Linked DNA regions of Homo sapiens: all the other regions are linked to region 2. Evidence: promoter capture Hi-C in 16 types of primary human blood cells and fetal thymus (Javierre and others, 2016). All regions are on one chromosome and are shown on one strand. Each heading gives the region's core, a stretch centred on a gene start or on the middle of the fragment in contact. The rest is flanking DNA. Distances are from core to core; before and after follow the strand shown. Region 1 overlaps RASGEF1A (RasGEF domain family member 1A). Region 2 holds the start of ZNF487 (zinc finger protein 487). Region 3 holds the start of RASGEF1A (RasGEF domain family member 1A). Region 4 has its middle 21 kb from the start of RASGEF1A.

The links. Contacts are between HindIII fragments. The CHiCAGO score rates a contact against its expected background, and 5 or more counts as called.
Region 1: a fragment that was not itself captured here is called in contact with the fragment with the promoter of ZNF487 in region 2 in 1 of 17 cell types (neutrophils); the score reaches 5.7 in neutrophils.
Region 3: the fragment with the promoter of RASGEF1A here is called in contact with the fragment with the promoter of ZNF487 in region 2 in 1 of 17 cell types (neutrophils); the score reaches 8.8 in neutrophils.
Region 4: a contact is called between a fragment that was not itself captured here and the fragment with the promoter of ZNF487 in region 2, in 4 of 17 cell types (naive CD8 T cells, monocytes, neutrophils and 1 more). The highest score is 6.9, in naive CD8 T cells.

The regions. Positions count from the first base shown.
Region 1 is chr10:43,194,995-43,198,104 of GRCh38, forward strand. RASGEF1A (RasGEF domain family member 1A) reads right to left here. Exons shown (of 13, transcript NM_145313.4): 10 at 3,010-3,110; 11 at 1,982-2,105; 12 at 1,482-1,554; 13 at 1-1,274. The coding sequence ends at 1,250. Among named protein-coding and RNA genes, the nearest start is that of CSGALNACT2, 58 kb to the left of the region's middle. The HindIII fragment of the contact is 7,336 bases long and covers 1-3,110 here.
Region 2 is chr10:43,435,314-43,438,413 of GRCh38, forward strand. It overlaps ZNF487 (zinc finger protein 487), which reads left to right and starts at 1,798. Exons shown (of 4, transcript NM_001355444.3): 1 at 1,798-1,949. RefSeq lists an enhancer at 1,253-1,322 and a silencer at 1,423-2,082. The HindIII fragment of the contact is 37,036 bases long and covers 1-3,100 here.
Region 3 is chr10:43,265,513-43,268,665 of GRCh38, forward strand. RASGEF1A (RasGEF domain family member 1A) reads right to left here and starts at 1,553. Exons shown (of 13, transcript NM_145313.4): 1 at 1,333-1,553. RefSeq lists an enhancer at 183-1,058. The HindIII fragment of the contact is 10,296 bases long and covers 1-3,153 here.
Region 4 is chr10:43,286,665-43,289,562 of GRCh38, forward strand. No RefSeq gene overlaps it. Among named protein-coding and RNA genes, the nearest start is that of RASGEF1A, 21 kb to the left of the region's middle. The HindIII fragment of the contact is 4,272 bases long and covers 1-2,898 here.

The DNA.
Region 1 (3,110 bases), core at 377-2,876, 240 kb before region 2:
TCTTCCAGGAGCTTTGGGAATTGGGACCTGGCCCATCCTCACCCAGGCTTCCCCATTGATCAAGGCTCCTGCGGAAACTGGGAATGCAGAGGGACAAGGATGCGGAGTTCCTGCGAGGGAGACGGTCCACGTGGATTGACCGTGTGCTTTCTGAAGGACAGCTGTCCTGCGCCATGGTCAGTAGGGCCCAGGGCTCACACCACGAAGTCAGACATGGGAAAATGGAGTGTGCTCCTCTAGCTGGGTGTAGAAAACACCTCTCAGTATTGGGCAGTTTTATCTGAATGGGCTCCAGCAGTATGGCCTGGCGAATTTTCTGTTTCCAATTCCAATTAGGGCGCTGCCTACCCAGGTGGGAAGAGGGCTGTTGGCTGCCCTCCCCTCTGTAGATGATAGGTTTCAAGACTAGCTCTAAATGTCACCACCCTGGAGTCGGCCATGTATTTTTCTTCATCACAGCTCAGTGTGTCTTTCAGTCACAGCCCAGAAAACTGACAACTCCATGCTTCCCTCCCTTACCTTATTTTAGATTTCCTCCTTTCTAAAATGTAGTTGAAGAATGATTTGCTGGACACATTGTCACAGAAAATATGCTGCCAGGTGCCCCCTGCCCCTCCCTGACCCCACAAATCCCTGAAAGGAAAATGAAAATGTAAACTTTGGACAGCCCGTACTCAAAGGCTCACTTCCAGAAGTGTGCGGACGCGACCTCCCAGCCACCAGCCCTCCTATGGAGCCTCGCAGCCCAGGCTCCTGAGGGCAGGCGCCCAGGTGGAGTGGGACTCACCGCAGCCCAAACCACAGAGCAGGAAGACCAGACCCCAGTACCCTCTAAGGCACTAACCCCGACGTCAGAGACACTGGCTGGAAAGGCGTCCGAGCAGGCAGGGCTCACGTTGGTTTTGGCTGGGTTTTTTAAAATATTTTTTTCATAAGATGTTAATAATCAAAAGTAGAAAATAAAAATCTACATTTCATTAGAATAAGATGTTATCATGGATACCATCTCCCATGATACTCTCCCCTCCCCCTCCCCAAAGCAGGGCCCTGCCCTGTTATTTAAAATAAACAAAAAAAACTTTGTAAGTGCCAAAGGTTGATGCGTGAAATAATTACCATTTTTTTCTCATAAAAGTTATATACAAAATGGACCCCAACCAGTGAGGCCTCCTCATCTCAACCCACATCAGTCAAAATTTAAACCCAGTTAGTGCACGTGCTTCCTCTGGCGTCGCGGGCTGCATCCGCCTCAGGCTCTGTTCAGAAGGGTGGTCCTAGAGGGGGACAGGACAAGCAGTGCTCAGGCCCGAGCAGGGCGGCTTGGGTCCAAGCCATCCTCAGCCTCCCACCAAACATGCACCAGGGACCCTGGACCAGGGACGCGGCAGTGCCCAGGCTCCCTTTCCAGGAGGGTAACCCTCGTGCCCACCCTGAGTCCTCCCTCTTCCTTACAGACTCCCATGTTCCTGACGCCCTCCTACCTGAGGGTCTTCCAGCTGTCTTTTTCCATGTGGTTCTCGGGACCCTCACTTTCAAAGGAGGCGACGAAGAGAGCTGAGAGATGGGAAAGTCCCTCAGAGCCTGTGTCCCCATGCAGTGTCTGCCTGAACCCAGCTGTCCCTTCAGGAGTACAGCCCAGCACAAGGGGACAGTGACCTCTGGCTGGGCTGAACACAGTTCTCTGCTGTGCGGGGCTCTCAGGCTGCCTGTTGGGGACTCTAGGAAGGTTCCTCGTGTTGCAGCACCTGACCTAAGCCCATGTGACCCTCTCCAGTGGCTGCTGGAAACTGAGTCTCTTGTCCTTCTCTTCCATCCATCCCATGACCCACCCTCATGCACACTCGCCCCTGCGAGCAGAGCCAGCCCTGTGTGGCATGGAGCAGCCAGCAGGCCATCTCCCAGGGCAACCCCAAAGAGCACCGGGCCTGGACAAGGAGTCAGGTGGGGTGGGAGGCATGCTGCGTTGGGAGGCAGCCCTCACCTTCCTCGCTGTAGATGGGCGCCGTGAGCAGGTAACTCTGAATCTTCTTGTCCTTCTCGAAAGGACACTCTACCTGTGTCCATGTCATGAACTCATGGATCTGTCTGGAGATCTCCCAGAATTTCTGAAGGGAGCAAAACCAACTGATGTTCATCTGTCACCTTAAGCACCAAACCCTCGGTCAGGGCAGGGGACGTAGGTTTTGGCCTCAGCCTCCTGCTCACTTCACTGGTCCCAGCAAGATGGGACAGTGGCCCTGCACGCTGACCCCGTGGCCATGGTGGCACGCCATGCAGCCTCAGAGCCAGCAGGTGTCCCCCAAGGCCACTCTGTCTGGCCCTCCACCTGGGCCATCAGGCCGGCAGCAGGGTCTCTGCCTGTCTGTGCAGGGACCCAAAGAAGGCCCCACTGATAACTCCAGCCTGAGGCAGGCACCCCATCCAAACCCAGCCCAGCGGCGCCAACCAGAACGTGTCATGATGTCCCTTCTCTGGGACCTTCGGAAGGATCCCAGCTCCTGCCCACACCTCACCTGTGTGAGGTAGGCATCCGGCAGCCCACAGCCACCTACACCTGCCCTGCCACCTATGTCCCACCCTCCCATCCTCACCAGGTGCCCTCAGGCCCACGAGGCAGGCTCTTCACTTCCATCTAGAATTCTCTGCCGCCTCCTCCCTGCTCAAGTCCCTTCCTATCTAAACCCCTCCTGACCTCCAATCCCACAGGGGTGGACAGGGCTCTCTCCCTGGTAGGGCCAGGCTGGAACCACGGTCCTGGATAAATACAATTCCCTGTGACTCCAAGCTCTGCAACTAGGCCATCCACCCAGAAGTACCGGCAGGCGCACCTCATACCTTGCAGTCAAACAGCACCCCGTGACCCACTATGAGGCTTTCAGTCTTGAAGGCCCTTGTGAACCTCAGGCAGGGCTCAGGAAACCCACAGATCCCGACCCAGGGCTAATGCCTGGCGGCTCCAGTAGCTCAGACAGTTTCCGCCTGGCCTGCCCTGTGCTGGGATGAGCTCACCTTAAAGTTAATGTGCCCGTTGGGCAGGTGGTTGGTATGGATTTTGTGCAGGAAGTAGATGTCCTTAACGAAGAGGTTGAACACAGGGATGACGATCTTTT
Region 2 (3,100 bases), core at 548-3,047:
AACCTCTGCCTCCCGGGTGCAAGCTATTCTCCTGCCTCAGCCTCCCGAATAACTGGGATCACAGGCATGTGCCACCACACCCAGCTAATTTTGAATTTTTAGTAGAGTTGGAGTTTCACCATGTAGGCCAGACTGATCTTAAACTCCTGATCTCAGGTGATCCACCCGCCTTGGCCTCCCAATGTGTTAGGATTACAGGCGTAAGCCACCACGCCCGGGCTTTTTATTTTTTTTCTTAATGATGCTGCACCTAATCACATTTAGGTGGCAGGCAAAAGAATATTGCTTAGCTGCTTTGCTACAGAAATGACAACTCTTGGGCAGGGGCGCGGTGGCTCACGCCTGTAATCCTACCACTTTGGGAGGCCGAGGCCAGTGGATCACCTGAGGTCAAGAGTTCGACACCAGGCCGGGCACGGTGGCTCATGCCTGTAATCCCAGCACTTTGGGAGGCCGAGACGGGCGGATCACGAGGTCAGGAGATCAAGACCAACCTGGCTAACACGGTGAAACCCCGTCTCTACTAAAAATACAAAAAATTAGCCGGGCGTGGTGGCGGGCGCCTGTAGTCCCAGCTACTCGGGAGGCTGAGGCAAGACAATGGCGTGACCCTGGGAGGCGGAGCTTGCAGTGAGCTGAGATCGCGCCACTGCACTCCACCCTGGGTGACAGAGCGAGACTCCGTCTCAAAAAAAAAAAAAAAAAAAAAAAAAAAGAGTTCGACACCAGCCTGGCCAAAATGGTGAAACCCCATCTCTACTAAAAACAAAAAAAATTAACCGGGCGTGGTGGCGGACGACTGTAATCCCAGCTACTCGGGAGCCTGAGGTAGGAGAATCACTTGAACTCGGGAGGCGGAGGTTGCAGTGAGCCAAGATCGCGCCACTGCACTCCAGCCTGGGCAACAAGAGCGAAACTTCGTCTCCAAAAAAAAAAAAAAAAAAAAGGACAACTTTTGATCCCTGAGGCTGCTAATTCCAACTGTGTGCATGTGCTTAACAAATACCTCCGCACCCAGGCCTGGGAAGTTGGCTGATTTGTGTACAGCAAATACGGCAGGCCTGATGTAGCAGAACTCTGACGAAAACGAACTGGACGCGTATTTCTCCTGCAGCGAAGGTCACGCTGCTGACAGCCTCTGCTTTGCACTTTGTCCCTGGGAAGGAGGCCTGTGGCCAGTCCTACCTCCTGGAAAGCCGGGGTGCGTCAGAGGACCTGATGCGGAGCGGGGACCCCATCCTCTCCGTGTCTCCCCAAGAGCCGGCGGCAGAGGCTGCCTGCGCTCCTTAAGCTAGGTCAGTTCTCTGGCCCGCAGTTCTCGTTCTCCTAACATCCTCCGCAGAAAACGACCTTCATTTTTTCCTCTTGCGCCAGTCTTGAAGCGGGGCGTCCTTTGGGCTCACGTTGCGGCGCCCAGCGGCCTCAAGCGTCAGCTGCCTCCAGGGCCTCAGGAGCAGTGGCTAGGGCCTGCCCTCCAGCGCCCGGGGTCCTCGGCCCAGCCCTGCTCCGAGCGCGTCACAATGGCGTCGCGGCCCCGCCCCCGGACGCCCAGCCGCGGTCCCAGCGACCTTCGCTTTCGTGGGGAAGCCGGACTGCGCCGTGTCTTCCTGAAGAAGGCTGGGGTAAGAGTCCGGCCAGCGGACAAGAGGGCAGCTGGTAGCAGGGTGGGATGCCCGTGGCATAGGGCCGAGCCCCCGCTAGGCACGCGGGAGCAGCAAGGCTTCCGGAAGCGCAGGGAGCGCTGGACTGGCGGGCGCCCGGGATTCGCGCAGGCCCCGCCCCTCGGCGGCCCCGCCCAGGGAGCGCTGCGGCAGTTTCCATGGTGAGATGGTCAACAAGCCTGTAAGTTCCTCAGCTACGACTACCAGGTACCTCGGGTTCCTCCCTCCTCCGAGAGACCGCCGAGGTGCGGGCTGTGAGAGGGGGAGCGTGGAGCCTCCGAGGCCGAGGTGAGGGGCGGCCGGCGGGCAGGGGCCGGGTCTGAGGTCGAGGGCCGCACACCCAGGATCGAGCGGGGACTGGGCCCGCTGGGGGTGGGGACCGTGGGGCTGGGATTTGGGATCAGGGCGAGTCGTGGCAGAGAGAACCCGGAGGATCTTTGACCCCAGTGCGGGAGCGGCCAGCCCACCCTAGAGAAGCGAGACAAGGGCAACCAGAAGGAACCGAGTCTGAGGAAGCGCTTCCTCTGGGCAGGGATATTGGGAGAGTCCTGGACGAGTGACCCTGGACCTAGGAGGCATGAGAGGTCTACACACACTTGCAAGGATACCTTCATGATTGTTGAGTTGTGGTGAGAAAAGAGGCTCTTTTTAGTTTATTTTTTAAGGCAGTACATTCACATCCTTAAGAGTCAGAAACTTGCACAAGGCCTTATTACTCAAAACTCCCTTTTCCCAGTTCCTTCTGAGGAAATAGTTGCAAATCTTTGAACTTTTTTCCTCCGGAAATTTTCTTTTTTTCTCTTACATCGGCAGCTCTTCACTGTGTTCTTCCTTCATTAGCTTTACTAAGTTTGTATTCTTTGGTTGGAAATATTTATTTATTTATTTATTTATAAATAGAAACAGGGGTATCACTATGTTGCTCAGGCTGGTCTTGAACTCCTGGGCTCAAGTGATTCTCCTGCTTTAGCTTTCCAAAGTGCGGGGATTACAGGCTGAACCACCGCCTGCCACCGAAATATTTCTTCATTGAGTTCCTTTGCCTCCTAGTGTTACTTTTCTGCTGTGTGTGTAATAGCCATTTGTTTTTTCTTTCTCCTTTCTGGTCATATCCTTAAATACATTTTGCACTAATTCCTTTTGAAACCTCATCATGGAGAGAACTTGAATTTAGCAGATTAGGGGTGAGTGCAGGCTTTTGTCTTAGGTTCCATATATATATATATTTTGAGGTGGAGTCTCCCTCTGTCGCCCAGGCTGGAGTGCAGTGGCGTGATTTTGGCTCACTGAAACCTCCACCTCCTGGCTTCAAGCAATTCTCCTGCCTCAGCCTCCCAAGTGACGAGGGTTACAGGCACGTGCCACCACACCCGGCTAATTTTTGTATTTTTAGTAGAGACAGGGTTTTGCCTTGTTGGCCAGGCTGGTCTCGAATTATT
Region 3 (3,153 bases), core at 303-2,802, 170 kb before region 2:
CCACCCACGTGTCCCTGGCCATCCAGCCAAGGTCCTCCATGTCCCCCTGCTCCGGATCTCCCCTTCCTGGGCTGGGGTCCTGAGGTTCCAAAGCAAAGTGTCACTGGACATCAGGGTGGAAATGTCCTCAGAGGTCATCAAAACCGTGTCAGTCTACAGATGGGGAAACTGAGTCTCAGAAGCCTGCAGCCTGCCCGTGGTTCACGAATCAAGACCTGTAGCCTTTCGGCTGGAGGCCCCCTAGAGCCGCTTAGAGTCCAGGGCACCGAGGTGGACAGGCTGGGCTGGCAAGACTGCATCCGGAGGGGGCGGGAGAACCCTGGGGGGACAGAGGGAACCAAGGCCTCTGGGAGGCTCCCCTGCACCCAGCCTGACTCCTGTGTTTCAGGATCCTGCGGCCGACGGCCATCGGGGCCCTTCCTGCGCAGGACAGTGGGAGAAGAGTGGCAGTGGTGGGGAGGGTGAACCAGGGAGAAGCTCACTGCTCTGAGCAGGGAGGGAGGGAGCCCCGGCCACCACCAGGTCTCTGCCCCCAGGTGGCTCCCAAGAGGCAGGCAGCGGCCTCTCTGTAAATATCCACCAGGTCCAGCACCCAGAGGCAGCCAGAAATGCAGGGCACAGGAACCTGCCAGCGCGTCCCTCCACACACAGCAGGGGACTCCCGCCCCCACCTCTCACTCACCGACCCTCGGACCAGAACCAGCTGCACCTGCCCCGTTCCTGGGGCCGGCAAGGCCTGGGGCAAAGAGAGCGTGGTCCTTCAAATGACCCTTGCCCAGCAGGGAGAGGGAGACACCTGGCATGGCCCTGGACCTCTCCCCCAAATGCAGAGCTCAAGCCCCAATTCCTCGCCAAACAGCAAGGGCGTGAGATACCACGGCGGGGCCCAGAATGCAGAAGAGCAAATGGAAACTTCCAACTGCGCAGCCCTGAGCTCCTCCGATTCCCCAGCCCCCACCCCCACGCCAGGCCCCGGGCAGCGAACCTGCCCGCAGTGCCCACGCCCGCCCGCCGCGTGCGCTCCTGCCACGCCCGGCCCGGCCCGGCCCGGCCCGCCAGGTGCCCTGAAGGGGCGGAGGGTGCAGGGGGTCCTGGCGCCGTCCAGCCCGGGGCGGAGTTCTCAGCAACTCCGCGCGCCGGGATCCCGGCCGCCCTCCCCGCGCGCGTCCCCCGCCCCGCGCCCGGAGCCCGCGCCCCGGCCCCACGACGGCCGCGCCGGGAGGGACCCCGGGCCCGCGCACGCCGCGCCCTGCCCGCGCCGGCGACCGGAGGGCACGGCCCCAGGCGCGGGCGGGGGCCCCGAGGCACTGAGGGTCCGCGGCCGCTGCCTACCTCGGTCCGGGCCAGCGTCGCTCCCGCGCCGCCCTCGCGCCGCAGTCGGGCCCCGAGCAGCGCGCGGCCGGCGCCGGCGGCGGCTCATGCTCGGCGCCCGGGCCCGCGGCACCCGCCCACCCGCGGCCGCCCCCGCGCTGCGCCAGCTGCGGGCAGAGCAGCTCCCTCCGCAGCCGGCGCCGGGGAGCGCGAGCGAGCGAGCGAACGAGCGAGCGCGGAGCGAGCGCCGAGCGGGCACGGAGCGGGCGCGAGAGCGCGGGGAGCGGGGGAGCGGGCGGGCGCGGGACGCGGAGGGAGGAGGGTGCGGGGCAAAGGTGCAGGGGGAGGTAGGGCGCGGGACGGGGCTCGAGCAGAGGGCACTGGGACAGGGCGGGCGCCGGGAGAGGGCGGCCAGGCTTTCATTTAAAAAGGATAAGGCATCACGCCTGTAATCCCAGCACTTTGGGAGGCCGAGACGGGCGGATCACGAGGTCAGGAGATCGAGACCATCCCGGCTAACACGGTGAAACCCCATCTCTACTAAAAATACAAAAAAAAAAATTAGCCGGGCGTGGTGGCGGGCGCCTGTAGTCCCAGCTACTCGGGAGGCTGAGGGAGGAGAATGGTGTAAACTCGGGAGGTGGAGCTTGCAGTGAGCCGAGATCGCGCCACTGCACTCCAGCCTGGGTAACAGAGTGAGACTCCGTCTCAAAAAAAAAAAAAAAAAAAAAAAAAAAAGGATCAGGCAGCAGACAAGCTAGGAGGCGATGCGGCCACCGCATTTAAAAGGCCCTCTGGGGACTCCCGCAGAGCTGGCAAAATTTTTGTCAGTGGAATCAGACGGTGAAAGCCCTTCTGTGGGCAAGTCCTGGCCCCTTGGGTCACTCCCCTTAACCATCTTAATCGCCCTGTAAGGTCGGTGGTGGATTTGTTCCCATTGGACAGGTTAGTAAACTGATGCACAGGGAGTGCGGTTACCCTGCAGGGTCTCAGAGCCTATAAGTGGCAGAGCAAGGCTCCAAAGCCACCTTGAAAGATTTCAGAACCACTAAAGCAGGACACAGGTCTTCTGGCGTCCACTGGAACTTCCTGTCGCTCTGAAGGGTCACCTTCTCTTGAACGGACACCCTGTGGCCTGACCCCAGGGTGGCCCAGAGTGACTCTTGCAGGCAGTCAGACGAGGGCCAGTGAGAAACAGGTCTGGGGCGACGATGTCCCCAGGTGGAGGGGTCTGTGTGAAAAAATGGGGAGGAGCCCCACAGCACCCCTTGAAGAGGCTGAGGACCTTGCTTACTCACTTAGTCCTTGTGTCTTGAACACCTGTATGCCAGGTGTAAGATGGGGCACTGGGATTCGGCTGTGAATGTCTCTGTCTGGTTGGAGTTTGCATTCTTGTGGGAAGTAGGCAGTGAATAAAAATACACATAAATAGTTCATGTGTCAGATGCTGCAGATCCCACAGAGAGGCCCAGCAGGGAGAGGGAGCCAGCGAAGGGAGGGGGAGGGGAGCTTGTAGGGTGGGGGATTCTTTTTTATTTTTTAAGGGGAGGTGTCACTGTGTGGCCCAGGCTGGAGTGCAGTGGCTATTCACAGGTGCAATCACTATGCTCTACAGCCTGGAACTTCCTGACTCTAGTGAGCCTCCTGCCTCAGCCTCCTGAGTAGCTAGAACTGTAGTTTCTCACCACCACCCTTCCCTGCTGGGTTGGGGATTTTATTTTGGGTGATCAGGGAAATCTTGGCTGAAAGGATCATATCTGAGCTAAGACCTAACTGAGGCAAGCTATGCTGAATCCGAGGAATGAACATTTTCAGCAAAGAGAACAGTACATGCAAAGGCCC
Region 4 (2,898 bases), core at 339-2,838, 150 kb before region 2:
TCTGGAACCCAGAGCGGGGAGGTGCTTGGCCTTCTTTGCTCCGGTGAGTCCCCACAGACCCTACAGGCCTGTGGCACAGGCACTGACCAACCAGGCCACAGGGAGTTGATGAGACCCTGTGACACCTGAATGCACCTCAGTGCACAGGTGCCTCCCAAGCATGCCCTGTGTTCATTCCCATGTTGGCCTTTCAGAGAGGAATGTTCTACCCATTTTACAGAGGACAGGGGGAGACCAGTGAGATCAGTTTTCTAGTCCCGTATTGCCACAAATGGGAGGCTGAGCCAGGAGGATCCCTTGAGCCCAGAGGTTCGAAACCAGCCTGGGCAACATAGGGAGACTCTGTCTCTACAAAAAATTAAAAAGTAGCCTGGTGTGATGGTGCATACCTGTAGTCCCAGCTACACAGGAAACTGAGACAGGAGGATCACTTGAGCTCGGGGAGTCGAGGCTGTAGTGAGCTGTGTTCACACCACTGCACTTCAGCCTGGGTGACAGAGCGAGACCCTGTCTCCAAACAAAAACAGTAACAACGAAAAGAGACTCCTGGGCTGTGCTGCAGGCTCTGGGAGGAAGCAGCAGAGGGGCCTGGGCTCCGAGGGCTTTGAGACCCTGGAGAGGACCTGGGAGTCAACACCTGTCCTCCTCCTTCACTTGCTCCAGGACAGGGTGGAAGTGTAGGCATTTGGGCTTCAGAGGCCAGGCGGAGTCTGGAGCAACCCCAGGCAGCAGAGTGGCCCCACTCCAGGAAACTCCTCCAGGTGAGCCCACAACTGACCACAAGGCTTGCCCTGCCCCCATGTGCCTTGGGCAGAAGAAACAGAACAGTCACACCGGTAAACAGGAAGTGGAAGGGCGAGGAGGAGCCCAGTCGTGAGTCACTGTAATTTAAACACCCAAGGCAGACAAGTAGCACAAAAGAGGAAACCAACACATCTCATGGAAAACACATTCAGGGACCCAGAGCTAATACAACAAACAGAATAAGACTTTAGAATAAGTATAATTAATATCCACAGAGAGATGTGCGTAAATAGGAAGCCAGAACATATTCCACTGCAAATCTTGACAGCATCCAGATTGGAAAGGAAGAGGTAAAACTCTCTGTTTGCAGATGATGAAATCTTGAATATAAAAAGTACTAAGGAACACACACACACACACACACTCACAGCTAATAGCAAGTTCAGCAAGGCTGTAAGGTGCAAGGTGAATATGCAAAAATCGGTCATATTCTATACACTAGCAATGAACAAACTGAAAATCAAATTAAGAAAACAATATAATTTGGAGGGACACCATAACAAAATGCCACCAATTGGGTAGCTTATGGGTAGCTTACAAATATATTGTCTCATAGCTCTGGAGGCCAGAGGTCCAAAACCAAGGTGATGCAGGGTTGGTTCCCTCACAGAAGGCCGTAGGGGAAAGCTCTGTCCCAAGCCTCTATCCTTATTTCTGATAGCTCCTTGGCTTGCGGCAGCAAAACCCCAGGCTCCACATGCAGTTCTCCCTGTGTGCCTGAGCCTGTGTCTGTGTCCAAATTTCCCTTTTAATAAGGACACCAGTTACATTGGATTAGGGCCCACCTTGTTCCAGGGTGACCTCATTCTAAGTCAATTATTTGCATCTGTAGTTACCCTATTTCCGAATAGGGTCACATTCTAAAGTACTAGGAAGTGAGACTTCAGCATATGAATTTTGGGGAGATATAGTTCAACCCATAACAAATTCTGTTCACAAGGGCATCAGAAAGAATAAAATATTGACCGGGCACTGTGACTCCCAGCACTTTGGGAGGCCAAGGCAGGAGGATGGCTTGAGGCCAGGAGTTTGAGACCAGCCTGGGCAATATAGCAAGACTCTATCTCTACAAAAAATATATACATAATTAGCTTCTCAGGAGGCTGAAGCAGGAGGCTCACTTAAGCCCAGGAGGTTAAGGCTGCAGTGATCCGTGTTGGCACCACTGCACTCCAGCCTGGGCAACACAGAAAGACCCTGTCTCAAAAAAATTAAAAGACTGAAAATTTATGAATAAATTTAACAAAAGAAGTGCAAAACTTGTACACTGAAAACTATAAACACAGTTGGGAGAAATTAAAGAACACTTAAATAAATGGAAAGACATCCACATTCATGGATTGGGAGACTTAATATGGTTAAGACGGCAATACTTCTTAAAGATCTCTGGGTTCACAGAATCCATATCAGAATCCCAGGTGAATTCTCTGCAGAAAGTTACAAGCTGTTCTGAAAATTCATATGAAAATTCAAGGAACCCAGGATAGTTAAAAAAATCTTCAAAAAGAAGAACAAAGTTGGATGACTCACAATTCCTGATTTGAAAACTTACTACAAAGCTACAATAATCACCAGGTGTAGTGGCTCACAGCTACAATCCCAGCACTTTGGGAGGCCGAGGCAGGAGGATCACTTGAGTCCAGGAGTTCAAGACCAGCCTGGTCAACATAGGGAGACCCTGTCACTAAAACTAATTTAAAAAGTAGCCAAGTGTGGTGGTGTGCACCTGTGGTCCCAGCCACTTGGTAGGCTGAAGAAGGAGGATCGCCTCAGCCAGGGAGGTCGAAGCTGCAGTGAGCTGTAATCCAGTGCCACTGCACTCCAGCCTGAGTGACAGAGCAAGACCCTGTCTCAAAAAAATAAATAAAATAAAATAAAATAACTTTTAAAAGAACACCAAAACAAGCCAGGCTTGGTAGTACATGACCATAGTCCCAACTACACAGCAGGCTGAGGCAGGAAGATCACTTGAGCCCAGGAGTTGGAGGAGTCGTATGCAATGATCACACGTGTGACAATAGCCACTGCACTCCAGCCTAGACAACACAGAGAGACCTTGTCTAAAACAAACAAACAAACAAAACCCAAATAGAA